Regions from separate parts of the Homo sapiens genome. Here all the other regions are linked to region 3. Evidence: promoter capture Hi-C in 16 types of primary human blood cells and fetal thymus (Javierre and others, 2016). All regions are on one chromosome and are shown on one strand. The core of a region is centred on a gene start or on the middle of the fragment in contact, and the rest is flanking DNA. Distances in the headings are between cores, read along the strand shown.

What was found. The method cuts DNA at HindIII sites, captures the fragments that hold promoters and counts their contacts. A CHiCAGO score of 5 or more calls a contact.
Region 1: a fragment that was not itself captured here is called in contact with the fragment with the promoter of ZNF227 in region 3 in 1 of 17 cell types (total CD4 T cells); the score reaches 9.4 in total CD4 T cells.
Region 2: the fragment with the promoter of ZNF616 here is called in contact with the fragment with the promoter of ZNF227 in region 3 in 1 of 17 cell types (total B cells); the score reaches 6.8 in total B cells.
Region 4: the fragment with the promoter of SCGB2B2 here is called in contact with the fragment with the promoter of ZNF227 in region 3 in 1 of 17 cell types (total CD4 T cells); the score reaches 7.4 in total CD4 T cells.
Region 5: a contact is called between the fragment with the promoter of ZNF614 here and the fragment with the promoter of ZNF227 in region 3, in 1 of 17 cell types (naive CD8 T cells). The highest score is 5.1, in naive CD8 T cells.
Region 6: a fragment that was not itself captured here is called in contact with the fragment with the promoter of ZNF227 in region 3 in 9 of 17 cell types (non-activated CD4 T cells, total B cells, activated CD4 T cells and 6 more); the score reaches 28.7 in non-activated CD4 T cells.
Region 7: a fragment that was not itself captured here is called in contact with the fragment with the promoter of ZNF227 in region 3 in 4 of 17 cell types (total CD4 T cells, naive CD4 T cells, non-activated CD4 T cells and 1 more); the score reaches 8.7 in total CD4 T cells.

What each region holds. Positions count from the first base shown.
Region 1 is chr19:52,049,595-52,052,959 of GRCh38, reverse strand. No RefSeq gene overlaps it. Among named protein-coding and RNA genes, the nearest start is that of ZNF432, 2.4 kb to the right of the region's middle. The HindIII fragment of the contact is 3,416 bases long and covers 106-3,365 here.
Region 2 is chr19:52,138,586-52,142,371 of GRCh38, reverse strand. ZNF616 (zinc finger protein 616) reads left to right here and starts at 2,434. Exons shown (of 4, transcript NM_178523.5): 1 at 2,434-2,640. RefSeq lists silencers at 2,139-2,188, 2,199-2,478 and an enhancer at 2,599-2,838. The HindIII fragment of the contact is 2,387 bases long and covers 2,091-3,786 here.
Region 3 is chr19:44,210,513-44,214,323 of GRCh38, reverse strand. ZNF227 (zinc finger protein 227) reads right to left here and starts at 1,792. Exons shown (of 6, transcript NM_182490.3): 1 at 1,739-1,792; 2 at 1,080-1,234. The HindIII fragment of the contact is 5,683 bases long and covers 1-2,716 here.
Region 4 is chr19:34,675,909-34,679,569 of GRCh38, reverse strand. It overlaps SCGB2B2 (secretoglobin family 2B member 2), which reads left to right and starts at 2,411. Exons shown (of 4, transcript NM_001025591.4): 1 at 2,411-3,661. ZNF302 (zinc finger protein 302) reads right to left here and starts at 1,892. Exons shown (of 5, transcript NM_001289187.2): 1 at 1,467-1,892; 2 at 757-833. The coding sequence starts at 765. It also overlaps the pseudogene ZNF807P and the pseudogene SCGB1B2P. RefSeq lists enhancers at 1-268, 1,126-2,022, 2,154-2,213, 2,264-2,363, 2,023-2,920 and a silencer at 1,644-1,703. The HindIII fragment of the contact is 5,389 bases long and covers 1-3,661 here.
Region 5 is chr19:52,026,371-52,030,123 of GRCh38, reverse strand. ZNF614 (zinc finger protein 614) reads left to right here and starts at 1,745. Exons shown (of 5, transcript NM_025040.4): 1 at 1,745-1,882. It overlaps LOC112268244 (a long non-coding RNA gene), which reads right to left and starts at 3,725. Exons shown (of 2, transcript XR_002958414.2): 1 at 3,586-3,725; 2 at 344-3,012. RefSeq lists enhancers at 1,258-2,017, 2,488-3,258. The HindIII fragment of the contact is 7,426 bases long and covers 1-3,753 here.
Region 6 is chr19:53,519,056-53,522,436 of GRCh38, reverse strand. It overlaps a transcript of ZNF331 not described here. Among named protein-coding and RNA genes, the nearest start is that of ZNF331, 17 kb to the left of the region's middle. RefSeq lists enhancers at 391-1,164, 1,475-1,674, 1,165-1,938, 1,939-2,713. The HindIII fragment of the contact is 293 bases long and covers 1,160-1,452 here.
Region 7 is chr19:52,170,983-52,174,682 of GRCh38, reverse strand. It overlaps ZNF836 (zinc finger protein 836), which reads left to right and starts at 3,062. Exons shown (of 5, transcript NM_001102657.3): 1 at 3,062-3,347. RefSeq lists a silencer at 2,894-2,943 and an enhancer at 3,524-3,663. The HindIII fragment of the contact is 1,362 bases long and covers 1,450-2,811 here.

The DNA of each region.
Region 1 (3,365 bases), core at 564-3,063, 7.8 Mb before region 3:
TAGTGCTTCCTTCAGGAGCTCTTGTAAGGCAGGCCTGGTGGTGACAAAATCTCTCAGCATTTGCTTGTCTGTAAAGAATTTTATTTTTCCTTCATATAGGAAGCTTAGTTTGGCTGGATATGAAATTCTAGGATGAAAGTTCTTTTCTTTAAGAATGTTGAATATTGGCCCCCACTCTCTTCTGGCTTGTAGGGTTTCTGCTGAGAGATCTGCTGTTAGTCACATGGGCTTCCCTTTGTGGGTAAGCCGACCTTTCTCTCTGGCTGCCTGAAGGGGGCCACCCCCTCCACAGCCTGTGGGTGTTTCTCGTCAGGTGGGACGAGAGACCAGGAAAAGAAATAAGAGACAGAGACAAAGTATAGAGAAAGAAAAGGGGGCCCCAGGGACTGGCGCTCTGCATATGGAGGACCTGCGCAGCTGGCCCTGGTCTCTGAGTTCCCTCAGTATTTATTGATCATTATCTCTACCATCTCGGAGAGGGGGATGTGGCAGGACAATAGGGTAATAGTGGGGAGAGGGTCAGCAGGAGAACATGTGAACAAAGGTCTCTGTGTCATAAATAAGTTTAAGGAAAGCTGCTGTGCCTTGATGTGCACGAGCACAAACATTTCGGTGCAATAAAGAGCAGTATTGCTGCCAGCATGTCTCACCTGCAGCCCTAAGGTGGTTTTCTCCTATCTCAGTAAACAGAACATACAGTCAGGTTTTACACCGAGACATTCTATTCCCAGGGATGAGCAGGAGACAGATGCCTTCCTCTTATCTCAACTGCAAAGAGGCTTTCCTCTTTTACTGATCCTCCTCAGCACAGACCCTTTATGGGTGTTGGGCTGGGGGACAGTCAGGTCTTTCCCTTCCCATGAGGCCATATCTCAGGCTATCACATGGGGAGAAACCTGGGGCAATACCTGGCTTTCCTAGGCAGAGGTCCCTGTGGGCTTGTGCAGTGTATTGTGTCTCTGGGTACTTGAGATTGGAGAATGGTGATGACTTTTACCAAGCATACTGCCTTCAAGCACTTTTTAAACAAAGCACATCCTGCGCAGCCCTAAAACCATTAAACCTTCTGTCAACACAACACATGTCTCTGCAAGCACTGGGTTGGAGCTAGGGTTACAGATTAACAGCATCTCAAGGCAGAAGAATTTCTCTTAGTATAGAACAAAATGGAGTCTCTTTTGTCTACTTCTTTCTACATAGACAAGTTAACAGTCTGATCTCTCTTTCTTTTCCCCACAGCTGCCCTTATTATTTTTTCCTTCATTTCAACTTTGATGAATTCAAACAGGATACAATTTGGGGAATATATGCTTATAATTTGCACTTGAGCTATTCTGTCCGAGTATGCCCCAGGACATTTTATGGAAATACCATGCAGTGCAATTTCAGACTCTGAGCATCTAAAAACCTGCCTCAGTATGCATGAATATTCACTATATGATTATAGTTCTACATGCCTTTGTATGTATAAGATCCATGGCTTGCATTTGCCTTGATTTTTATGTGTGGTAAAAATAAAAATATAGCAAGTGTATACAAATATTAGGAAATGGGCCAGGTGTTGGAGCTCATTCCTGTAATCCCAGCACTTTCGGAGGCCAAGGCAGGTGGATCACATGAGTTCAGAAGTTTGAGACCAGCATGAACAACATGGTGAAACCATGTCTGTACTAAAAATACAAAAATTAGCTGGGTGTGGTGGTACACCTGTAATCCCAGCTATTTGGGAGGCTGAGGCAGAAGAATTGCTTGAACCCGGGAGACAGAGTTTGCAGTGAGCTGAGATTGCACCACTGCGCACCAACCTGGGTGACAGAGTGAGATGCAGTCTAAAAAAAAACTTATTAAAAAAATATATTATATATATGGAAATAAACAATAATTAGGAAATAAGAATTTCTTATTTGTGCTTAGAATACACAGTGAAGTAAACAGAAAAAAAGAACAACAACAAAAAAGAATACATAGTGAAGTAATTTGAAAAGATTAAATGTTAAGACAGGCATGGTGGCTTATGCCTGTAATCCTGGCACTTTGGAAGGTCGAGGTGGGAGGATTGCTTGAGCCCAAAAGTTCAAGACCAGCCTGGGCAACATGATGAAACATCATCTCCACAAAACATACAAATATCAGCTCTGTTATATATGAAATAAACAGAGTTTTCCAAAGATCTTTTATAAGATGGGAGAAAGGAGATGAAATAGAAGAGAGATTGACTTGGTCCTTCAGGATTGGAATCTGATAGATGGGACACTAGAGGAAGTTTAATGTAATCTTTTTGGCTATCTAGATCTAGTTTTTAGGCCCTGGCTAGAAGCCAGTTAGTTCCTCTTCTAGAATGGCCAATTAAGTCTACAATGCCGGCCACAGTGAGCTTGTGGTATTTAGCTTGCCCTAATCCTATCCCCATATCCTCAGCTTCAAGGTAGCCTTGAAAAGCAACCACCTTTTAACAACAGTAACAGTGAATATCTGCACCCTAGCAGAATATCTGCACTTGAGGAGGTAGAAATGGCTCTGAAAATGGCAGAAATGGCTCTGAAACACCCAAAAGCCTCCATCCCCACAGAATGTTCACTACTAAGCCTGCTTTGCAGCCTGCTGAATAGGTCTATTCTCATAGTATTTCTCTATTTGGCTTGACTTTATTTATGTGAACACTCCTACCCATAGGGCACTTGTCAAAAAACAATCAGCAGCAATTGTTTAACACTAGAGTGTTTAGGGGAGTGACAGTGTGTGTCTGCGTGATAGATGGAAGTAATAAGAGGGCACAGGGGAAAGGGGCCATACGCATAAGATGATGGAACAGAGAGCCTGGAGGGTGGGGTATAGAGAGTGTAGGGGAAGGGAGAAGGCAGACAGGTAAAAGGAAAAAGAATGTTAAGTGTTGTTCAGCCTCAAGACTGACATGATGAAAGTACCTTTATTGTGGTTTTTGTAAATTAGAATGCATGCTTTATTATTAAAAAAAACACAATTGAAAATGTTAAGGACCTTTTCCTCCTTGCTTCTTATAAGAAACCATCATAAGACATAACTTGTAATAATTCTGTAGAAATATACATATATAAAGATATATGTATATATATATTTTAAAATAGTATGTTTTTATTGCAAAATATTCATTAGTGTCATCATATCATAGCCAGATCTACAACCCCAGAGTAATTCCCATGGTTATGTTACATGGCAAAAAGGACTCTGCATTGTAATTAAGTTTATTAATCAGCTGACTTTAGCATTGGGAGATTATTCTGGATTGCCCAAGCACTTAAGAATAGGAGAAACCGGAGAGATGCAGCAGCAATAGTCAGTGGTTTCAAATATGAAAGGGATTTCACATACTATTGTTGGCTTTAAAG
Region 2 (3,786 bases), core at 1,185-3,684, 7.9 Mb before region 3:
GTGAGTCGGGAGTGCTGATTGGTTGGGTAGGAGACGAAATCATAGAGATCTGAAGCTGTCATTTTGCACTGAGTCAGTTCCTGGGTGGGGTCACAAGACCAGATGAGCCAGTTTATGGATCTGGGTTGGTGTCAGGTGATCCATCAAGTGCAGGGAATGCAAAATATCTCAAGCACTGATCTTAGGTTTTATAATAGTAATGTTATCCCCAGGAACAATCTGGGAAGGGTGAGAATCTTGTAGCCTCCAGCTACATGACTCCTAAACCATCATCTCTCACCTTGTGCCTAATTTGTTAGTCTTACAAAGGCAGTCTAGTCCCCAAGCAGGAAGGGGGTTTGTTTTGGGAAAGGGCTGTTAATGTCTTTGTTTCAAACTATAAACTAAGTTCCTTCCAAAGTTAGTTCAGCCTATGCCCAGGAATGAACAAGAGCAGCTTGGAGGTTAAAAGCAAGATGGAGTTGATTAGGTCAGATCTCTTTCACTGTAATAATTTTCTCAGTTATAATTGTGCAATGGAAGTTTCAGGTTCTGGATCAGGACCCCTTTCTGGTAACACAAGGATGGTTATGAATGCATCCAGATATCCAAAAAGTTATCTCTGAAAGCCAGAGATTTCCTTTCCCTATGGGTTCTTCCCTTGCATGTCAACCCAAGGATTCACTGGGGACCTAGAATTGTGCAGGGCAGTTAGGAAGAGAGAGACAAAAGAGAGAAGAGGTGAAGTAGTTTTGAAGAAGAGAAAGAAGGTCCCATGCAGCCTCAGTTTTTTTTCCAACAAACTTTTCATGCTGGGAAATAGGATCCTGGTTTATTTGTGGGAGGGATTTTATAGGAGGGTGAGAAAAAAATGCCCTTTGAGGGTAGAGTCTGTGGAGCCCTAATTGGGGAAAAGGAGTCAGCCTGAAAGGACCAGGAGAAAGCAAAGAGATAAAGCAAATAAGCTATAAATCTTTCTTCATGGTCCAGAACATATAAAAAAAAATAGAGGAAGCAGATAAGCTGTAGGTCTCTTTTTCTTTATGGCCAAGGACATATGGCCTTTCTGTGGAAAGAACGTAAATAAGTCACAAACTTTCTGCTTTCATTTATCATCAAACGCCTCAGCTAACAGAAGAATGCAAGTTAGCTCCCTGCTACCTTGGCCTCCCAAAGTGTGGGGATTATAGGCGTTAGCCACTGCACCCAACCAAATCTCCTCTTCTCATGGCTCACTGCAGCCTTCACCTCCTGGGCTCAAATGATCCTCCTTCCTTACCCTTCCGAGTTGCTGGGCCCACACGTGCAGGCCACCATGTCCAGATAATTTAATTTTTTGTAGAGAGGTCTGGCTATGTTGCCCAGGATGATCTCAAATCCCTGGCCTCAAGCAATTCTGACACCTCAGCTTCCCAAGTAGCTGGGACTACAAGAGTGCATTACCAAGCCTGGCTACTTTTTGTATTTCTTGTAGAGATGGGGGTCTCACGATGCTGTCCAGGCTGGTTTTGAACTCTTGAGCTCAAGTGACCTGCCCACCTGGGCCTCCAAAACTGCTGGCCCATCTCAAAAGACTTAATCCATTTCAGTATCAACTCTCAAAAGTCTTAATCCATTCCTGTATCAGCTCTTAGGGCAGAATACCCCCTAAATATTATCTGAACCACACATGGGTGAGAATCAAGGTGTGATTCATCCTGAGGCAAAATTTCTGCCCAGCTGTGAATCTGTGAGGCCAGAGAAGTTATCTGCTTCCAAAATATAATGGTGATAAAGGCATAGGATACATCCCCCAGCCCTGGTAACCACCCTTCTAATCTGTTACTGTAAATTTGACGTTTGTACTTTGCACGTGTAAAAGCACAGGCAGTATTTGTCTTTCTGTGTCTAGCATATTTCGCTTGGCATAATGTCTTCCGGGTTCCTGGATCCAGCCACGGCTCCACATCAAATCCCCAGCGAGATCCTAGTTCCCTGACTATTGAGTAGCTTCAGCATCATCGGCAAGAGTGGATGGAGTCCACCAAGCTTGTAAAAATCGGTTTTGACTTAGTTCAACTTGTTAAGAAATCATCTTAGTTTCTAATATAAGTGGACCACAACTTTAAGCTTTAACCTTAAATTTTGAAACATTAACTTAAAATAGGCAGGCAGCAACGCTGCTTCACAGGACAAGAAGTAGTCAGAAAACCAAAGACATGCTGCCTGTGAACCAGAGTAAATAACAGGCTCTATTTCGGCCCCGCTTACCCCATGAAACCCCGCCCCATCCTCCGCCGCGGCTCCGTCCCGCCCCACCTAGCCACGCCCACTGCCGCTCCGGCCCGGCTCCACCCTCTCAGGGTCCCTCCCCGAGTCAGGCCCCTCTTTCCGACCCGCCCCTTGCTGGTCGCGGCTCGCCCAGGCCCCGCCCCCTGGCCTCCCAGTTTTTTCTCTCCGCTAGCAGTTTCCGTCACTCCCGGAAGCAGATTGCGCCAGGGAAAGGCCTTATCGCTGTGTGTGTGTTTCAGTCTACGTGGATTAAACATTACTTCGCTCCGTCTGCCTGGATTAAACGTGCACTTTGCAGTCCTCACTTCTCCGTACCAGTGATCTGGGGATCGCTACGGACCTTAAAATACCCATAGCCCCTTCGCCCCTGCAACAGGCACTTCTCCCCACGTAAGTCCGAGAATTGCTTCCCTGTCGGTTTAAAATCTCTCTCAGGCTGTTCCTTGCCCCCTGCCTTTCTGCCATGTAGATAACCATGTCGATAACCCCATTCAGGTCGTGTTCCTGCTTAAAACTCTCATTGACCCCTGCTTCGGCCCCGGGCGAAGTCAAGTCCTCCCTCGCGAGGTGGATTCCCACCAGTCGAGACCCCCGAGCTTCGCCCTTGTCGACGCCTGGAGGGGAGCGCCCGCTGCCCAGCTCCTGAAGGAGCCGCTTCTTCTCCCAGGTCCTGGGATTCTGCAGACCCTCCCTGTCCTGAGACACCGTCCCCCGCGCCACCTAGTGTCCTCCGCGCGCCACCTAGTGTCCTCCTCACGCCGGGTCCTTCCCCTCCCCAGGCTGCCCCTTCACAGCCACTGCTTTTCCTGACTCCGCGTTGCAGGAGGTCACCCGAGTCTGTCTTGTGACACCCACTGTCGTTCCTTCCCAAATTTTTACTCCACTGGAAAATGTGCTCTTCCGGGAGGTGGGCATCGTATTCCTCCCCTTTCCTCCTGAATGTGTGGGTGAGAGGGATCAGGAGAGGAAAAGAGGGGGAGCGACGGGACAGAAAGAAAAACTGGGGAGAAAAGAATGAGTACACGGCAAAATGGATGATAATTTAGGTACTGGCAAAGAGAGCAAGAGTGCAAGAGGACGCATGGAGAAAGTAGCACGGGGAGAAAAGCACATAAAGAAATTAGGGAAAAGGGAGAGCTTCAGGGAGCTGAAGGGCAGCAAAATAGAGAGGGGCGGCAAAGGAGGAGGCACTGCAGTCAGACGCGGGGGGCGGAAAAGGTAAGAGTCGGAGCCGCGGCTGACAGAGCCACGTGGTGCTGGGACTGAAGGAGAGGGGAGTGGGTAACAAAGGAGAGTAGAGGGAGAACCACAGCAAGGAGGAAGCCTAGGAAGTTGGGGGTGCTAGAGAGTGGGAACAAAGGAGATGTAACAGGGAAAAGGGAATTTAACAGGGAAGAGGGATTTTAACAGGGAGAGCAGACAGGGAGCTCAGATGGGGGAAAAGAGGCAGGAATACGTGGCGGCTGGGGACAATGGGAAAGTTTGGGGAGAAAGAGCAACAAGAGGTGAAATAAATTTCGAAGCATTGGGCAGAAT
Region 3 (3,811 bases), core at 543-3,042:
ACCTATTTTGAGAAACATCCATAGCATATACTAAAGGGAAACACATTAAAGTGTTAGCAGTTTTATTATAAGTAATTTAAGTTTTCTGAATATAACATCACTGTCCAATAGAAATATACTGAGACACATAAATAATTTTAAATTTTCTAGCAGTAACATATAAAAAAGGCAAAAAAACAAAAACAAAAATAGGTGAAGTTAATTTCAACAACATAATTTAAGCCAATGTATCCAAAATATTACCATTTTGACATATAATACAAAAAATTATCAATGAGCCATCTTACATTTTTTGTACAAAGTTTTTGAAATCCAGTGTGTATTTAACACTTACAGCACATCTCAATTTGGACTAGACACATTTCAAGTGCTCCTAGGGCACACATGGCTTATAGCTACTGGATTGGATAGTGCATCTCTATAATGAGCATTCATTACTTCTATAACTAGAATATGACATATTTTGACATGGAATGAAATTAAGTAAGTGAGATGTTGCAGGATTTTTCTAAAAAATTCAAAATTCATCAGTGCAGTTTTTGAGGTCTTCCACAGTAAAATCCATACCTACATTCCCAAGGCTGATTTCCAACGACTCACCGGTAGCCATATGGATTACTATTTAAGATAACTGAAGACGACTGTATCATTGAGATTAAGACCACAGACTCAGAAAAAGGAATAGAAAATAAACAACAACAAAAACCAAAGAAACAAAAACAAACAAAAAAGATCACACAGTCTGAAAAGGAATGCTTGGGTTCAATCCCAAATCCACCTCTTACTATCAGTTGAATAACTTCGGGAAAGTATTTAATAACATAAACTCTGCCTAATTTCCTCATAACAAAATAACAAGACCTACTTCATCAATAGCTATGGTCCACAGACGAATGCCTTAAAATCAAAGTGGTAAGATGTTATTGGTAATACTCATTTCCAAGTAGTTTTCCTACCCACTCTCACATTTATTCAACAAATATTTCATCATTTTTCAGTAGTAACTTACTGAGTGACGGAAACTTGATTAACTGAAAGGACAGAAAATGGAACAACAAAGTGCGTTCAAGAGCAGGTACCTGGGGCTATGCTGGGAGAAGCCAAGAAGTCCCTCCTTCCTCCTCTTTGCAAATTCGGAGGCGGTGAATAAAAGGATGCTGTCAGCACGATGGAGTCTCTATCCCGGATAAACGGCGGTAAACATCCCCACGCATTGGAGCCCGATGACTCAATCCTTCTTAAAAAAAAAAAAGATCTGTAAAAGTTCGGGAAGAGCTCGGTCTCCTGAAGGATACGACAGAAAGGCCATGGCATAAAGCCCTGACTTTTCTTCTCTCTTCACTGGAGCTTCCAGTAAAAAGGGCGCTTGTGAGGGAATCACTGTATCAATAGCAGGAGCCAACCCAGTATCAGGTGCCACCACTGTTCTAAGGTTTGACCCGTATTATCTTGTTTAATTCTAATTACAACCCTACACAGTAACGACTATCTTTATTGCTATTTTAAAGATGAGGAAACAGGAGCGCGGATCATAGGTAACTCGCTGTTTATTATACCCACAGAACTAGCGGCGCTGCTTGCCAAGTGCGGGAGGAGAGCAAACTTCCCGCCCTCGGCCTCTCGGCCTCCGCCGCGGCCGCGACCTCTCCATCCCAAGACTGATGGCTGGGGAGCGCCTATTCCCAAGCACAGGCTGAAAAGGTTCAAGAGGGGTCGTGGGGGTGCAGGGCTGACTCACCTCCCGGACCCAAAAGATGGTGGCGGCCTCGCTTTCCGGGGCGGAAGTGGCTCTGCCTGCCCAGAGCTCCTGAACTACCCTTCCCAGAAGGCCCGCGCTCCTGCGGCCCAATTGTTTCCGGACAGAGTTCTGGAATACGTTTCCCAGAACTTCCAGAAGGAAAAACCATCCAGGTGCCGCCCTCTTCGCGCTTGAAAAAAAAAAAAACAAAAAAAAAAACGGAGCGAGCGAGTGAGAGAGGGTTACGGAGAGTGTGACAAAATTCTCGGAGCTCCCGGACTACAACATCCAGAATCCTCTTCACGGCTTATTGCTGTTTAGCCAGGCTGAAGCAGTTCTCTGATGTCAGTGGAATTTAGGTTTTTCTTATTAACAAAAAGTAACAGCAAATATGTGAAGAATTGGAGCCCTAAAATAAAAAAAGACTCCCAGCACTTTGGGAGGCCGAGGCGGGCGGATCACGAGGTCAGGAGTTCCAGACCAGCTTGGCCAATATGATGAAGCCCCGTCTCTACTAAAAATATAAAAATTAGCCGGGCGTGGTGGCGCGCGCCTGTAGTCCCAGCTACTTGGGAGGCTGAGGCATAAGAATCGCTTGAACCCTGGAGGGTGCAGTGAGCCAAGATCGTGCCACTGCACTCCAGCCTGGGCGACAGAGTGAGACTCTGTCTCAAAAAAAAAAAAAAGAAAAAAAAAACTATTATAAGAAACAGATCACGTGATCCTGTACTAATAGAATTATACCCACCACTTCCAAAAAAAAAAAAAAAAAGGGCAGAGGAAACCCTTTAAGTTTTTACATTTAACAGGATCGACTAATAGAAAAACTACTCTTTAGATACTAAAAGAATGAAAGAGCAATCAAAAAATGCAACGAAGGCAGAATATATTATGGATTTCCACTTTTCTTAATAGCACAGTCATATAATTCAGAACAACTTGCTTACTGAGGATAGCTAGACATAGAAAACACAAGCTTTGGCATATGGTAGATCAACTCCACAAAGCAACTAGGGCCTCTGTAATCATTCCTCAAGGAGTTTCTGAATTTGAAAGATGAACAAATTTATTACTTCAGTGTTTAAACCTTGATCTTTATTTGCTTAAATGTATAATGGAATTGATGTTTCCAAGAATTGAGGGTTGAAAGAAGAGAGCAATACCTAAAAATATCCACATATCTACTACAGTACATGTTTGCAGTTCTCATTTACTAAATATATATTCTTTATTCTGTTATATACAACTATCTCTTATAAAGAACCAAGTATGTGCCAGGAACTAGTTCAAACTATTCAGACTATGGGACCCTCACTACATTTTCACAACTTTTTTCTTTTTTTTTTTGTTCTGTTTTGTTGTTGTTGTTGTTGTTGTTGTTGTTAGACAGAGTTTGGCTCTTTTGCCCAGGCTGGAGTGAAGTGGCATGACCTCGGCTCATTGCAACCTCCGCCCTCACACAAGGTTCAAGCAAGTCTCCTGCCTCAGCCTCCCAAGTCGCTGGGGTTATAGGCACCCCCCTCCCCACCACGCCCAGCTAATTTTTGTATTTTTAGTAGAGACGGGGTTTTGCCATCTTGGCCAGGCTAGTCTTGAATTCCTGACCTCAGGTGATCCACCCGCCCCGGCCTCCCAAAGTGCTAGGATTACAGGCATGAGCCACCACACTTAGCCCATTTTCACAACTTTTTTAAAACAAATAATGTCCTCTAGTTTACTCTTTGGGATCCAGAGGCAGAGAGAGGTTAAGTATATCTCCTAAGATGGAAATTTGATTATTTTCACCTGCATGTCTATCCAGTGCCCTTAAGAGAAGGTTCAAATGCTTTAACAAGTCGCACAAACAGGAATTTTCCAGATGCTGTTTCTCTCTTGGAATCCACTTTCCACTCTACATGTCCAGCCATAGTGGATTACTTGTACTCCTACAAAAAGCCTCTAATTCTTTGTATTTGGTGTTCCTTCTGTCATAACCTGCTACTCTTTTCCCTCCTGGGTGACGGTCTTCATCCATAGCTTAAATATTCCCTGCTCTAATAAGACTTACTGTGGGTTCTTGCCTTGTAGACTAAT
Region 4 (3,661 bases), core at 1,162-3,661, 9.5 Mb after region 3:
AAGAATATTCCACGTGGATGGCACAGCAACTGGTGACAGAGGCTGGAGCGCACAGGAATGAGGAGGCAGAGAAGGAAGGTGGGATCAGGGAGGTAATGGCCTAATTGTACAAATAGGTCATTGCAGAAGTGACTCAGTTAGAACCACTGAAAAATTTTAGGTTGCGGAATGACAGGAATTTATATAACAATAGGACCATGGTCACAGCTGTACTGAGAACAGACTGATGAGGGTTAAGGGCAGATGCTGGGAATCCAGCTAGGAGGCTACCGCAATAATCCAGGTGGCTCGGACTGGGGTGGTAGTGGTGGTGGTGGTGATGGGCTAACTAATGGTCAGATGCTGTATACGGTGTATCGTTTAGATCCAAACTAGAGGACCTGAATATGAGTTATAAGTCAAAAGGAAGAATCAAGGATGACTCCAAACATCTCTTCACTTGAGACCACATGGTACAGTTTTGACAACCATAAACCGAATAACCTTACATTCCAAAGTTGCATTGTGAATTACAGTTTTAAAATGTTGGCAATCTAGAAAGTCTTCTAGCAGAAAACTGTAGAAAAGAGGAACACTGGGTGATGAGGACAATACCTTGGAGCTCTCCTGTGGGCTCCATTCTTCCTATAGTGAAAGGAACCATAGATCTAGTCCCTTAAATGGACTTGATTAGGTGGGAACAGGCAGGAGAAGCAAAGCAAACACACAGAGGCCTAATAAAGTGTTTCAGGAAGATTTGGGGACACACCGACTTACCTGAGACATTATTCTGCAATTTCCAATGGCCAACAGAGTCCCCTTTCCAGGTTCTTATCTTAGAGATGGGCAGTGTCCTGAGGGCACAGAAAGGCAGGAAAAAGCAGTCATGAAAAATCGGGCTTATCTTGCGGCACCTGTCACACACCTTAATGGAAAAGCACACTGGTAATCACTCGCCGGAGCGTCAATCTCTCCCTGGGAAGGAACAGGGTGTTTCTCCGCAAGGGCTATTTACCAGGTGCCACCTGCGGGGAAAATCAATTATTCTGTATACAAAAGACTCATAAAACAACGGTAACAACTTTATCAGCTCGTTCAGTCTTCACCACTTTGCAAGGTGTGCATTCATATTATTCCAGATTTTTTTTTTTTTTTTTTTGAGACGGAGTCTCGTTCTGTCTCCAGGCTGGAGTGCAATGGAGCGACCTCGACTCACTGCAACCTCTGCCTCCCGGGTTGAAGCGATTCTCCTACCTCAACCTCTCGAATAGCTGGGATTATAGACACGTGCCACCACGCCCAGCTAATTTTTTTTTGTATTTTTAGTAGAGACGGCGTTTCGCCATGTTCGTTAGGCTGGTGCGGTGGCTTACGCCTTTAATCCCAGCACTTCGGAAGGCGGAGGCGGGCGGATCGCTTGAGGTCGAGTTCTAAACCAGATTTATTTTTTAAAATGAAGACAAAACTGAAATTCCGAGATACTGAACCCATTTGTTCAAGGTTGCACAACTGAAAGCGCCGGCTTCATGACGACATAACCCAAAAAAAACTGTAGCTGGCGTCTGCTCTCGCGCCCACTTCGCTCTCACAACAGTGCCAAGAGGTCGGCGCCGTCATCACCCCGCGTTTACACGGCTCAACAGGAAGGCCAGGAAATGCCCAAGGCCCCGGCCGTGGTCAAACCGCGCGCGGACCCAGGGCCTTAGCCCCGCCGTCGCCGCGACCCACACTTGCCGGAGTCCTCAGCAGGGCCTCACCGTCCCGCAGGCGCCCCGAGCCCGCGCCTCCGCGGACCTGACGCGCCGCGTAGCTGGTGAGCGGGTAACGGCGGCCGACCTCCGGGAACGACACTGCCCCAAACCGTTCCTTAGCTTGGAAGCCGCCGCCAGGCCTGAAGCTATCGCGGGACTGACCCAGTGCACCGCCCACGGCGAACCACATTTCCCAGAATCCTCCCCCTGCGGTACAAATGTCCCGGAAGCCGCGAACCGCCGGCACCCGAAGACCACACTTCCCAAGGGTCTCTGCGGCTGCGCGGACCTGGTGCGCCGCGGGCAAACCGGTCACGGCTTTGTAAGTAGCTTAACCGCCTGGGGCCGTCGACCTAGAGCCGGCCAGCTAGGACCATGCGCAAATTGTCCTGGGGCACACAGTCGTCCTCTGGTGAACGATACAACTCGAAACCAAGGGACACCCTCTACTTATAAGGGCCATGGCGCCCGGACCAAGAAATTACATTTCCCAGAAAACTGCAGCCGTGCCAAGGTCTTCCGGGTCATTCCTGCGCTCACACAAACGTTTCCCTCCGAGACATGGGCAGCCCTTGCTGGTACCGCGCAAGTGCTCGCCGTTGCTAGCAAAGGGGCTCCTCTCATCCCAAACCCTGCCGCTATGCTGTTCACCTTCAGGTCTTTTTTTTTTTTTTTTTTTGGCACTCATTTGCCCAAGACGATAACTCACAAAACGCCCTGTGGCCCGACTGTCACGACTGTAGTTCGCCAACCAAGGGCATTTCCTGGAAATGCAAGGGGACACGTATCTGTGACACTAATGGCCGTTCTGACGTGCGTTACGCCCCTGGAAGGACTTGGAAATACTGAACTTGAGTGAGCACTGGGAGGATGGAGACCCTCATCCTGGGAGGAGTCACTCCTCCCGCAGCCATCACAGCCTGACGCCCCCTCTCCCCAGAAGTGCTTCTTAGGCCCACCCAAAAGGGCAATGGACCTCTCTGTATGCAAGCCAGAGCAGTCTACTGTTTGTGTATATTTGGGTTGTTTACTTTCTTTTTAACACTTAAATGTTAATTGACTTCAATCATTTTTAAAATTATAAATAGTGTCGCTATAGACTTTTTTGTACTTATTAAGTACTGACCTGCATGATCTTCGTGAAGCAGTGCTTCTGTTACCAGAAAGGGGTCCGGATCCGACCCCAAGAGAGAGTTCTTAGAGCTCACGCAAGAAAAAATCCATGGGAGAGCACAGTGCAAAGCCAAAGCAAGTGTATTAAGAAAGTAAAGAAACAATGGGTACTCCATTGTTAGAGCAGCAGCTTGGGCTGCTGGACTAGGGATACTTGTATTTATTGCTTGATGATGTGCTAAACAAGGGTGGATTATTCATGAGTTTTCCAGGAAAGAGGTGGGCAATTTCAATTTCTCGGAGCTGAGGGCTTCCCAGCTTTTTGAACCATACAGGGTAACTTCTGAACCTTACCATGGCATTTGTAAATTGCCATGGCACTGATGAGCGTTTCTCTTAGCGTGCTAATGCATATAATTAGCATATAACCGAGAGGTGAAGCCAGCTGGGCTTCTGGATCAGGTGGGGCCTTGGAGAACTTTTCTGTATAGCTGAAGGATTGTAAATACACCAATCAGTGCTCTGTGTCTAGCTAAAGGTTTGTAAATGCACCAGTCAGCACTCTGTAAAAACGGACCAAACAGCACTCTGTAAAATAGACCAATCAGCGCTCTGTAAAATGGACAAATCAGCAGGATGTGGGCGGGGCCAAATAAGGGAATAAAAACGGGCCACCCGAACAACCAGCGGCAACCGCGCTGGGGTCTACTTCCCAGGTGTGGGATGTTTGTTCTTTTGCTCTTTGGGTCTGCACTACCTTTATGAGCTGCAACACTCACCCTGAAGGTCTGCAGCTTCACTCTTGAAGCCAGCGAGAC
Region 5 (3,753 bases), core at 496-2,995, 7.8 Mb before region 3:
TGCTCCACCAACCAGGCCCTTGAATCACCTTCCTTGTCCCGTGAATCAGCACAGCCTGCCACGGCAAAGTTTTATCAGCCCACTCCTGGAAATGATCAGTGAAGGTCCCATCATGGGCTGCTCATAGTCCTGTGGACCAGGTGCTAAACTTACCTACCAGAGATTAACATTCCAGATGAACGGGGCTGAAATTTAATCCTGGATGGAATATGTTATAACACTCAAGAAATACGAACATGAAATTCTTATTCTCTAGAAATTACAAAACGTAAGTAAAATGAAGAAATTTTAAGTCACCATAATTGTACGGAACAGTCAAATATTGTTAGTATATTCTCCAGAATTTTTCAAATGCATGAGCATATTTATTTTCTGAAAGAAAACAGCCTATTTTGCATTTATCATGCCATGAACTTATTATACATCATCATACCTATTTTCTAAGATCAACATGTTTTATAATATATTCATGATTATGGTACAAAGATAGTAAAATTAAGTATAAATTGGGAATATTTTTCAAGTAAAAACATGGCATTCTCTACCTATGAACACAAACAATATTAATTCAAACTAAATGTCTTGTTTAACCAATCACAATTTTCCAAAAGATGTTTATGATTTCTTCCAATAACAAGACCATAAAATATATACTATCCTGCAGATCATTTTTTTGTCCTCTGACAAAGTTTTCTTTTTTATAAAACAATTGTAGCATATTCTTTTAAATTGATATATACTCTTACAGTTCAGCAGATGTTCCATAATTTACCAAAGTATTCATCTCTCATTGTAATTCCCTTTTTTTGTAAATTACAAAAGTTGTGGTTAATATTAAGACAGATTTGCCTAGATAGCTTTTAGAATTGCTGTGTCAAAGAAAACGAAAAAATTAAATTGGCTCTAGGTTGCCTTCCAAAAATACAATATTTACTTAAATCTTCTACAGTTACAACGCCAACATCTGCAAAAATAGAACTAATATTTTTTAAGTGTGACTTTTTAAAAAATCTGGAAACATTGCAAAGTAGGATGATCGCATTCTAATAATTTCATATTCTTAAGTGCCCCACTGTCATCTTCCTTTACTTCTGGAAGGAAACATGTAGATATTAACACAGTTGCACCTTCACCTCCTCATCCCCTTCCCCACTGGCAGTGGTTTTAATAGCAAGCCCCATGTGGGTATTAGCATTTAATGGAGCATCACTCCTGTTCTCGGCTTCGTCCATTCAGTCAGAGTCTAATCTAACCCACAAAAGCCTTACCCAGCCCAGAACCCCCGCCCTATCCCCAAATCTAACACTTTCAGTGACCACTGGTTTTGGCAACTCTGTGACCGCTTCCTGGCCAGCACCGTGACTTCTTCAAACCTTGTTTATTTTTCCAAATTGTCCTGGATATGAGCATCTTCTCTGCCGTACGGCTGCTGCCTTCCTCTAAGATGGCCGTGCCCATGGTGCTCCAGCTAAGGCTCCACTCTCAGCTATAATGGGCACAAAGGGCGCCGCCATCTTTTTTCCACAGCAGGCTGAATAGAATGCCACTGCGCCGTGTTGGCCTTGGCTGGGCACCCGACTCTTGAGTGTCCCTTGCAACGAAGAGAGAAAGGCACTGAGGTGACTAAGAGTGATTCCCACAGCCATTATGGCCGCTCCTGTCAGAAACGCTGCGATGGGCGCAGCCCTGTGACCTCATAGAGCGGCGCCCGCAGTCTGAACTCGCGATCCCGGGCAGGCTCCGTGGTCCTCGCCTCGCTTCACGGTCTTTACCGCTCAGCTTCCCGGAGTCCGCGCAGGAGCGCGTCTGAATAGGAAGCGTTTTCGGACGTGGATGCGGCGTTTTGTCGCTGCCAGTGGTGTCTGGAGAGGTTCGGGCTCGGGTGAGTCGAGTTCTGGGCATGGACTCGCGGCCTGTGGGTCTGTGTACCGATGGTGCGTGGAGCGTCCTGATTGGGGCTGTATTTGAACGCAGTCGCTGAGGAAGCGGGGCGTTAATGACGGGTCCTTTGGCTGTAGGGATGAAGAGTCTGAGGAAATCAGCGACGAGTCCGACTCTGTCTGGGTCTGGGGCCCTTGTGAGTCACCCTTTACGGGTGTTGGGCTGGGGGACGGTCAGGTCTTTCCCTTCCCATGAGGCCCTATCTCAGGCTATCACATGGGATATTATCTTTCCTGAAGAATATAACATGTGCTCTTGAAAAAAATGTTTATTTTACTGCTGTTGAGTGCAGTGTTAAATGTTCGTTAAGTCTAGTTGGTTGATAATGTTGTTCAAGTTTTCGGTATCCTTGCTGAGTTTCTATTTGTTTTCTTTATTATTGCAAGTAGGGTAATGTAGTCTTCAATTATTATTGTTGAATTGTCTAATCCTCTCTCATTCTGTTTTGCTTCATACGTTTTTAAATTATCATATTCTTATATATACACCCTTATATTATTATTGCCAGCCATTGTAACCATTGTTGCCACTCACCTAGGCCTTGGTGTCCAGAGTTTTATTGGATATCAGTTAACACACACACACACAATTGACTGCCTATGAGGCTGACTTCAATCTCCAGCTCCTCCAGATATCAAACTAATACCACGTGGTCCAAGGTCTCCCACAGTAAATCACATTATTAGGATAGACAATTTGGCATGGCTTAAATTGCCCTGATAACCAAAGACAGTTTTATCAAGCAGCGTATTCCAAAGGCTTAGAGTTTGCCTCATAGGAACTGTGGGCAAAGGACAAAGCTCTCTTGGGTAAAGTTACTCCTTTAGCGCATAATGTGAAATGAGACAGTTCTTGTGATTTGCTTAGTACATTGGTCTTGACACGAGGTATGTATACCCAAAGAGCTTACAGAGACTTTCGAACCAGTACATGGGCACACGTGGTTTTTAAAGACATTCTTGGAGCCTTCCATGTGTTCTCTTTCCTAAAATTGATCTGTCTGAGAATTCACCTTGAAGGGGGCCACCCCTCCACAACCTGTGGGTGTTTCTTGTCAGGTGGGATGAGAGACTGAGAAAAGAAATAAGAGACAAAGTATAGAGAAAGAAAAGTGGGCCCAGGAGACCAGCACTCAGCATACGGAGGACCCACGCTGGCACTGGTCTCTGAGTTCCCTCAGTATTTATTGATCACTATCTCTACCACCTCGGAGAGGGGGATGTGGCAGGACAATAAGGTAATAGTGGGGAGAGGGTCAGCAGGAAAACATGTGAACAAAGGTCTCTGTGTCATAAATAAGTTTAAGGAAACGTGCTGTGCCTTGATGTGCACGCACACAAACATTTCGGTACAATAAAGAGCAGTATTGCCACCAGCATGTCTCACCTCCAGCCCTAAGGCGGTTTTCTCCTATCTCAGTAAATAGAACAGACAATGGGGTTTTACACGGAGACATTCCATTCCCAGGGACGAGGAGGAGACAGATGCCTTTCTCTTATCTCAACCGCAAAGAGGCCTTCCTCTTTTACTGATCCTCCTCAGCAGAGACCCTTTACAGGTGTCGGGGTAGGGGACGGTCAGGTCTTTCCCTTCCCACGAGGCCATATCTCAGGCTATCATATGGGGAGAAACCTTGGACAATACCTGGTTTTCCTAGGCAGAGGTCCCCGCGGCCTTCCGCAGTGTATTGTGTCTCTGGGTAGTTGAGATTAGAGAATGGTGATGACTTTTACCAAGCATACTGCCTTCAAGCACGTTTTTAACAAAGCACATCCTGCACAGCCCTAAATCCATTAAACCTTGAGTCAACAC
Region 6 (3,381 bases), core at 57-2,556, 9.3 Mb before region 3:
GGTGAAATCCCGTCTCTACTAAAAATACAAAAATTAGCTGGGCATGGTGGCGTGCGCCTGTGGTCCCAGCTACTTGGGAGGCTGAGGCAGGAGAATCGCTTGAACCTGGGAACCGAGATCGCACCACTGCACTCCAGCCCTGGGCGACAGAGCAAGACTCTGTCTCAAAAAAAAAAAAAACAAAGAAAGAAAATAGGGCACACTTGTCCCCAGACCACAGTTAAAATCAATCAGAAATAAGAGGGCACAGGCATGTGAGTTTTTCAGAGAAATGCTGGAAAACTCTAGGAACTGGGGTTCTGAAACATGGAGCTGCCCCTCTCACCACCTCCCCGCCTCCCATGTCAGGTACCTCTTTCTTCCCCAAAAGGAATTCTATTCTTGAGGTTACTTCCTCTTGTCGTCCAGGTAGTGTGCACGGAGAGCACTTCTGGCTCCAAAACTGCCATCTCGTGACTTGTGAAGCCTTCTTCTTGGTCATTTTCACAATAGCGTAGAGCCTCTCACGTCACTTTGGGACCACTGCTCCCTAGCAGGTACCACATGGCTGGAAGGCCAAGGCACAGGAAGCAACGGAGACACTAGAAAGACAGGTGACATGGTCGCACACACCTGTGCTCACTCAAAAGGCCATGCACCCAGGCCCGATCCCGACCAGTCACAGCCGCACACTCGCTGGCCCTTTCACACCCACAGACGCTCACACCAGAGGGACACTGCCTGTCCCTGTCAACCTGACAGAAGTGCAAAGGCACATTTCAGAGACACGGAGACCCGTCCTGGCCGTGCCACCTCTGCAGACCCCACCAGCATTGACCTCGCACAGAACGGAGGTGCAGAGACACAGCCCGGCTGCGTCACCCCTACAGATGCCCTTACAGCCCGGCGCTATGGCCCTCATAGACGTCTACACACACCTGTGTCACAGTTTATGGGGACAGAGCCCGGCCGCGTCAACCCCGCATGCATCACGGCTTAGGGGAACGGGGCTTGTTCGCATTACCCCACAGACGAAGACAATTATCTCAGTCACTGGGCCACGGCGGGGCCCCACCAGGCAGCCTCTGGCTTATTCACACACACACACACACACACACACACACACTCACACACACTCCCACTTCCCTGCTCGCCGCTCCCGAAGCCTCAGGCCGAAGCTTCTTCATTTTAGGGCCTCCGCGTCCCGAGTGGCTCCCTCACCGCCATTCCCCGCGGAACCCTGCCCTGGCTTCCTCCTGGGAGGCAAATAGCTCCCGGCTCGAGGCCTAACCACACCCAGCACATCAGGAGGTGAAACAAGGTCTCAGGCGCAGTTGGGATAAGATCCAGGAGAAACCATTTTTAAAAATCCCGCGAGCATGAAGCACGCCCCTCAGCCGGCCACCCGGCTCGCTCCTCATTGGACTGTGCCCCAAGGCCCTCTGGGAAATGTAATGCGAAACCAGAGAAGCTTCGACGCAGCTGGAAGGGCGCCCGTCAGTGTTTCCCAGCATGCAACTCTACACGGCGCAAATGGAGCCGTGACCCAGAGGCCTCTGGGAAATGTAGTCCATAACCCGGAAATCCACAGAGTTGGAAGCGGCTGTCAGGATTTCCCAGCATGCAACTCTACGCGACCCTAAGGGCGTCCTGCCTTGAGGGCTTCTGGGAAATGTAGCTCATAACCCGGGAATCGACGTATCTGGAAGGGCGCCCATCAGTGTTTCCCTGCAGGCAACTGCACACGGCCCTAATGGAGCCATGCCCCAGAGACCTCTGGGAAATGCTCACTACGCGGGAATCCTTAGCGCTGGAAGCGCGGCCGTCAGAATGCTTTTCGTCGGTGTCTCCTCCCACTGTTAGAGCAGCTGCACCCCCCATAGACTTCTGGGAAAGCGTATTTCAGACTGGCAGAATCTTCAAATGCTGGAAGCCCTGTCGGCCTTCTCCTGCCCTGAAACTTTGCTTGCTCCTAAGGCGCACCACAAAAAATTCCTGGGAAAAGTGGTTCAGGCTCTAGGGGCCTACAGTTATAATTGCTTACAACTTGCATTTGGGATCCGTCCATAGGGAAGGCGTGTCCCCGCGTCCTTCTGGGAAGGAAATGTAGTCTGAAACGACCAGAAATCACGCCTGTAATCTCAGCACTTTGGGAGGCCGAGGCGGGTATATCACCTGAGATCAGGAGTTCGAGACCCTCCTGCCCAACATGGTGAAACCCCATCGCTCTAAAAATGCAAAAATTAGCCAGGCGTGGTGGTGTGTGCCTGTAATCCCAGCTACTTGGGAGGCTGAGGGAAGAGAATCGCTTGAACCCAGGAGGCAGAGGTTGCAGTGAGCCGAGATCACACCACTGCACTCCAGCCTGGGCGATAAGAGTGAAACAATGTCTCAAAATAATAATAATAATAATAATAAGCCCGGAAAGCTTAAAAGCTGTGATTTGGGAAAAGTTCAAAAATTTCCCAGCATGCAACATGGCCCTCCTTAGAAAAGAGCTGTGCCTCCAGAGCGTTCTTGGAAATACAGCCCCGAGCTGGAAATGCCTCTAGAAAGTGTTAGGTAGGGTGTTTACATGTGAGATTTTGGGGACGTTTCAGCACTGCCCTTTCCCCCACCCCCCAGTAGATTGGGGAGCTCCAGGCATGTGTGTAGGGACCTTGAGTAGGTTCCACGGGAGTGACCTGGTCCTGACTGGGTCTGTGCCAAGGCTCTCTCTGTAAGGGCAGGACTTTGCGTTTCGTTCTCTGATGCTGTCCCAGACTTGGGAGCACTGCCTGGCTCTTCAGATGTCTCTGTGAGTGTTACCTTGGTATGGGCGGGAGAGGCCTGGGCTGTATGGCTTGCTGCCCGGCAGGATATTGACAAGATGTTCTTATGATCAGGCGGTTTGGCCCTTTTTCCGGTGGGATCTCATCAGGATGTTCCTTGGACCTTTGCCAAGAAAGATATGATAGGGATGGTTTTTGTAGTTGGGCCTTTGCCCAGTAGGACATGATGAGAATGTTTCTTTAATTGGGTCTTTGTTCGCCTTGTGGTCAGGTGGTTAGGCAGGATATTTCTCACTGCCTGAACCCCTGTGAAATGTTTCACTTTGACCAAGGTCTGCAAAAGAGCAGGGGGCTTCCGAAATGGTGCAATTTAGACAAACACTGGGGTGTGAGATGCTTTGCCCTAAAAAATATATGCTGTTGTTGGGAGAGAATCATTGGTGGGTGTGACTGGATTTGTGATTGTGTGGACTCATCAGGGAGCCTCCTGGAGCTCAGGTAAGGGAGGGCGCCTGTGAGGTTTTTGGCCTTCATTATGACATGGATGAGATTGTATGTTTCTATGAACGTGTGGGTAAGACTACTGTATAGAGTACCCTTGACATAAGTAACTCCATCTTAGAAAAAGACT
Region 7 (3,700 bases), core at 881-3,380, 8.0 Mb before region 3:
ATTCTCCTGCCTCAGTCTGAGTAGATGGGATTACAGGCGCCCACCACCATGCCGGGCTGATTTTTGTATTTTTGGTAGACACTGGGTTTCACCATGTTGGACAGTCTGGTCTTGAACTCCTGACCTCAGGTGATCTACCCACCTCAGCCTCCCAGAGTGCTGGGATTACAGGCGTGAGCCACCATGCCCAGCCCTTTTTTAAGATTTATATTTCTTTCTTACTTAATTACCTACTCATCTGAAGGAAATTTTTTTTTTTAAGACGGAGTATCACTCTGTCCCCAGGCTGGAGTGCAGTGGCGCGATCTCGGCTCACTGCAACCTCCACCTCCCAGGTTCAAGCGATTCCCCTGCCTCAGCCTCCCAAGTAGCTGGGTCTACAGGTGCGTGCCACCACGCCTGGCTAATTTTTTGTATTTTTAGTAGAGACGGGGTTTCACCATGTTAGCCAGGATGGTCTCGATCTCCTGACCTCGTGATCAGCCCCCGTCAGTCTCCCAAAGTGCTGGGATTACAGGTGTGAGCCACAGCCCCCGGCCTTGGAAAAATATACATTTTTTAAATTTTATCTACTTTACAGTTTGGGCGGCCAAGGCAGGAGGCTCACTTGAGCCCAGGAGTTCAAGACCAGCATGGACAACAACGTGAAACCCTATCTCTACAAAAAATTTGAAAATTAGTCAGGTGTGGTGGCACATGCCTGTAGTGCCAGTGTATTAGTTTGTTCTCACATTGCTATAAAGAAATACCTGAGATTGGGTAATTTATAAAGAAAAGAGGTTTAATTGGCTCATGGCTCTGCAGGCTGTACAGGAAGCATGATGCTGGCATCTGCTTGGCTTCTGGAGAGGCCTCAGAAAACTTACAATTATGGCAGAAGGTGAAGGGGAGGCAAGTACTTCACATGCCCAGACAGGAGGAAGACAGAGAATGGGGAGGTGCCACACACTGTTTTTTTTGAGCCTAGGTTGGAGGGCAGTGGCACGATCTTGGCTCACTGCAACCTCCGCCTCCCGGGTTCAAGCGATTCTCCTGCCTCAGCCTCCCAAGTAGCTGAGATTACAGGTGCGTGACACCACACCCGGCTAATTTTTCTTTTTTTTTTTTTAAGAGACAGAGTCTCACCCTGTCACCCAGGCTGGAGTGCAGTGGCGCGATCTCGGCTCACTGCAAGCTCTGCCTCCCAGATTCAAGCAATTCTCCTGCCTCAGCCTCCCGAGTAGCTGGCACTAAAGGCATGCGCCACCACACCTGGCTAATTTTTGTATTTTCAGTAGAGATGGGGTTTCACCATGTTGGCCAGGCTGGTCTCAAACTTCTGAGCTCAAGTGATCCATCCACCTTGACCTCCCAAAGTGCTGGGATTACAGGCATGAAGCACTGCTTCCAGCCAAATTTCCTCTTATCAAAACATCAGTCAGATTGCATCAGAGCCCATTCTAACAAGCTTAGTTTAACTTAATAGCCTCTAAATGCCCTATTTCAAAATACAGTCATATTCTGAGGTACTGGGTGTTAGAACTTAAAGACAATGATTTATTTTATTTTATTTATTTATTTATTTTTTGAGACAGAGTCTCGCTTTGCCGCCCAGGCTGGAGTGCAGTGGCTGGATCTCGGCTCACTGCAAGCTCCGCCTCCTGGGTTCACGCCATTCTCCTGCCTCTGCCTCCGGAGCAGCTGGGACCACACGCACCCGCCACCACGCCCGGCTAATTTTTTGCATTTTTAGTAGAGACAGGGTTTCACCGTGTTAACCAGGATGGTCTCGATCTCATGACCTTGTGATCCGCCCGCCGCGGCCTCCCAAAGTGCTGGGATTATAGGCATGAGCCACCGCGCTTGGCCAACAATGATTTTTTAGGGACGTGATTCAGCTCATAACATTCTGTACTCTGGACTCCCAAAATTCATGTCCTTCTCACATGCAAGATCCCTTCACCCCCATCCTAACATCTCAAAAGTCTTATTATTATTATTTTTTGAGACAGAGTCTCACTCTGTTGCCCTGGCAGCAGTTCAGTGGTGCAAAGACAACTCATTGCAGCCTTGATCCCCTGGGCTCAAGAGATCCTCCCACCTCAGCCTCCCAAATAGCTGTGACTATAGGCGTGAGCCACCATGCCTGGCTAATTTTTGTATTTTTTGTAGAGACAAGGGTCTTACTATGTTGCCCCAGGTTGGTCTTGAATTCTTGAGCTCAAGCAATCCTTCCACCTTGGCCTCCCAAAGAGCTGGGATTACAGGCCAGAGCCACTGCTCCTGGCCCATTTCAAAAGTCTTAATCCATTTCAGTATCAAACTCTAAGGCCCAAATATTACCCAAATATTATCTGAATCACATATGGGTGAGACTCAAAGTGTGGTTCATCCTGAGGCAAAATTTCTGTCCAGCTGTGAAACTGTGAAGCCAAAGAAGCTATTTGCTTCCAAAATACAATGGTGGGACAGGCACAGGATAGACCGTCAGCCCTGGAAACCACCCTTCTACTCTGTTACTGTAATTTTGATGTTTGTAGATTGCACATGTAAGTAAGCACATGCAGGATTTGTCTTTCTGTGTCTAGCACATTTCGCTTAGCATAATGTCTTCAGGGTTCCTGGATCCAGCCACGGCTGCACATCAGATCTTCACGGAGATCCTAGTTCCCTGACTACTGAGTAACTTCAGCCTTAACTGGCTTCAGCCTCACTGGCAAGACCCGATGGAGTCCACCAGGCTCGCAAAAATCGATTTTGACTTAAATCAGTTCAACTTGACAAGAAGAAAACATCTTAGTTTCCAACAGAAGTGGACCACAACTTTAAGCTTTGACCTTAAAGTCTAAAACATTAACTTAAAATAGGCAGGAAGCAACGCTGCTTCACAGGACAAGAAATAGTCACAAATACTCCTAAATCGGGAGAACAAAGACTTGCTGGGTGGAAGGCAGAGCGAATAACAGGCCCCGCCCACCAAACAGGTCCCGCCCACACCGCCCGTCCCGCTTAGCCCACCTGGCCCCGCCCACTACCGCATCAGCCTTGCCCCACCCTTTCAGGGTTCCCAAATCTGGCCAGTCTTTCTGCCCTTTCCCTTGCGGGTCGCACCCCGCCCAGGCCCCTCTCCCGCCCCAGGTCTCTCAGTCTTTTTTCTCAGGGCGTGTAGCTTCCTGCACACCCGGAAGCAGATCGCGCGGGGAAAAGATCACAGCGCTGCGCGTCAGTTTCCGTCTACCTGGACTAAACATTTGCTTCGCCCCGTCTGCCTGAATCGAACGTGCACTTGGCAGTCTTCCCTTGTCCATACCCGTTTCCTGGGGATCGCTACGGACCTTAAAATACCAGCAACAGCCCCTTCGCCCCAAGTAAGTCTGATAATTGCTTCCCTTTCGGTTTAAAAATCTCTCTGAGGCTGTTCCTTGCTCCCTGCCTTTCTGCCTTAGGACCATGTAGACAACCCCACTCAGGTCGTGTTCCTGCTTAAAACCCTTACTGACCTCTGCTTCGGCCCTGCGCCAAGTCGAGTCCTCACTCGGGAGGTGGATTCCCGCCCGTTGCGACCCCGGAGCTTCTCCGTCGTCAGCCCCTGGAGGGGAGCGCCCGCCGTCCGGCTCCTGAAGGAGTCGCTTCTCCTCCCAGGTCCTGGGATTCTGCAGACCCTCCCTGTCCTGAGACACCGTACCCCCTGCCACCTTGTGTCCTCCTCACGCCGGGTCCT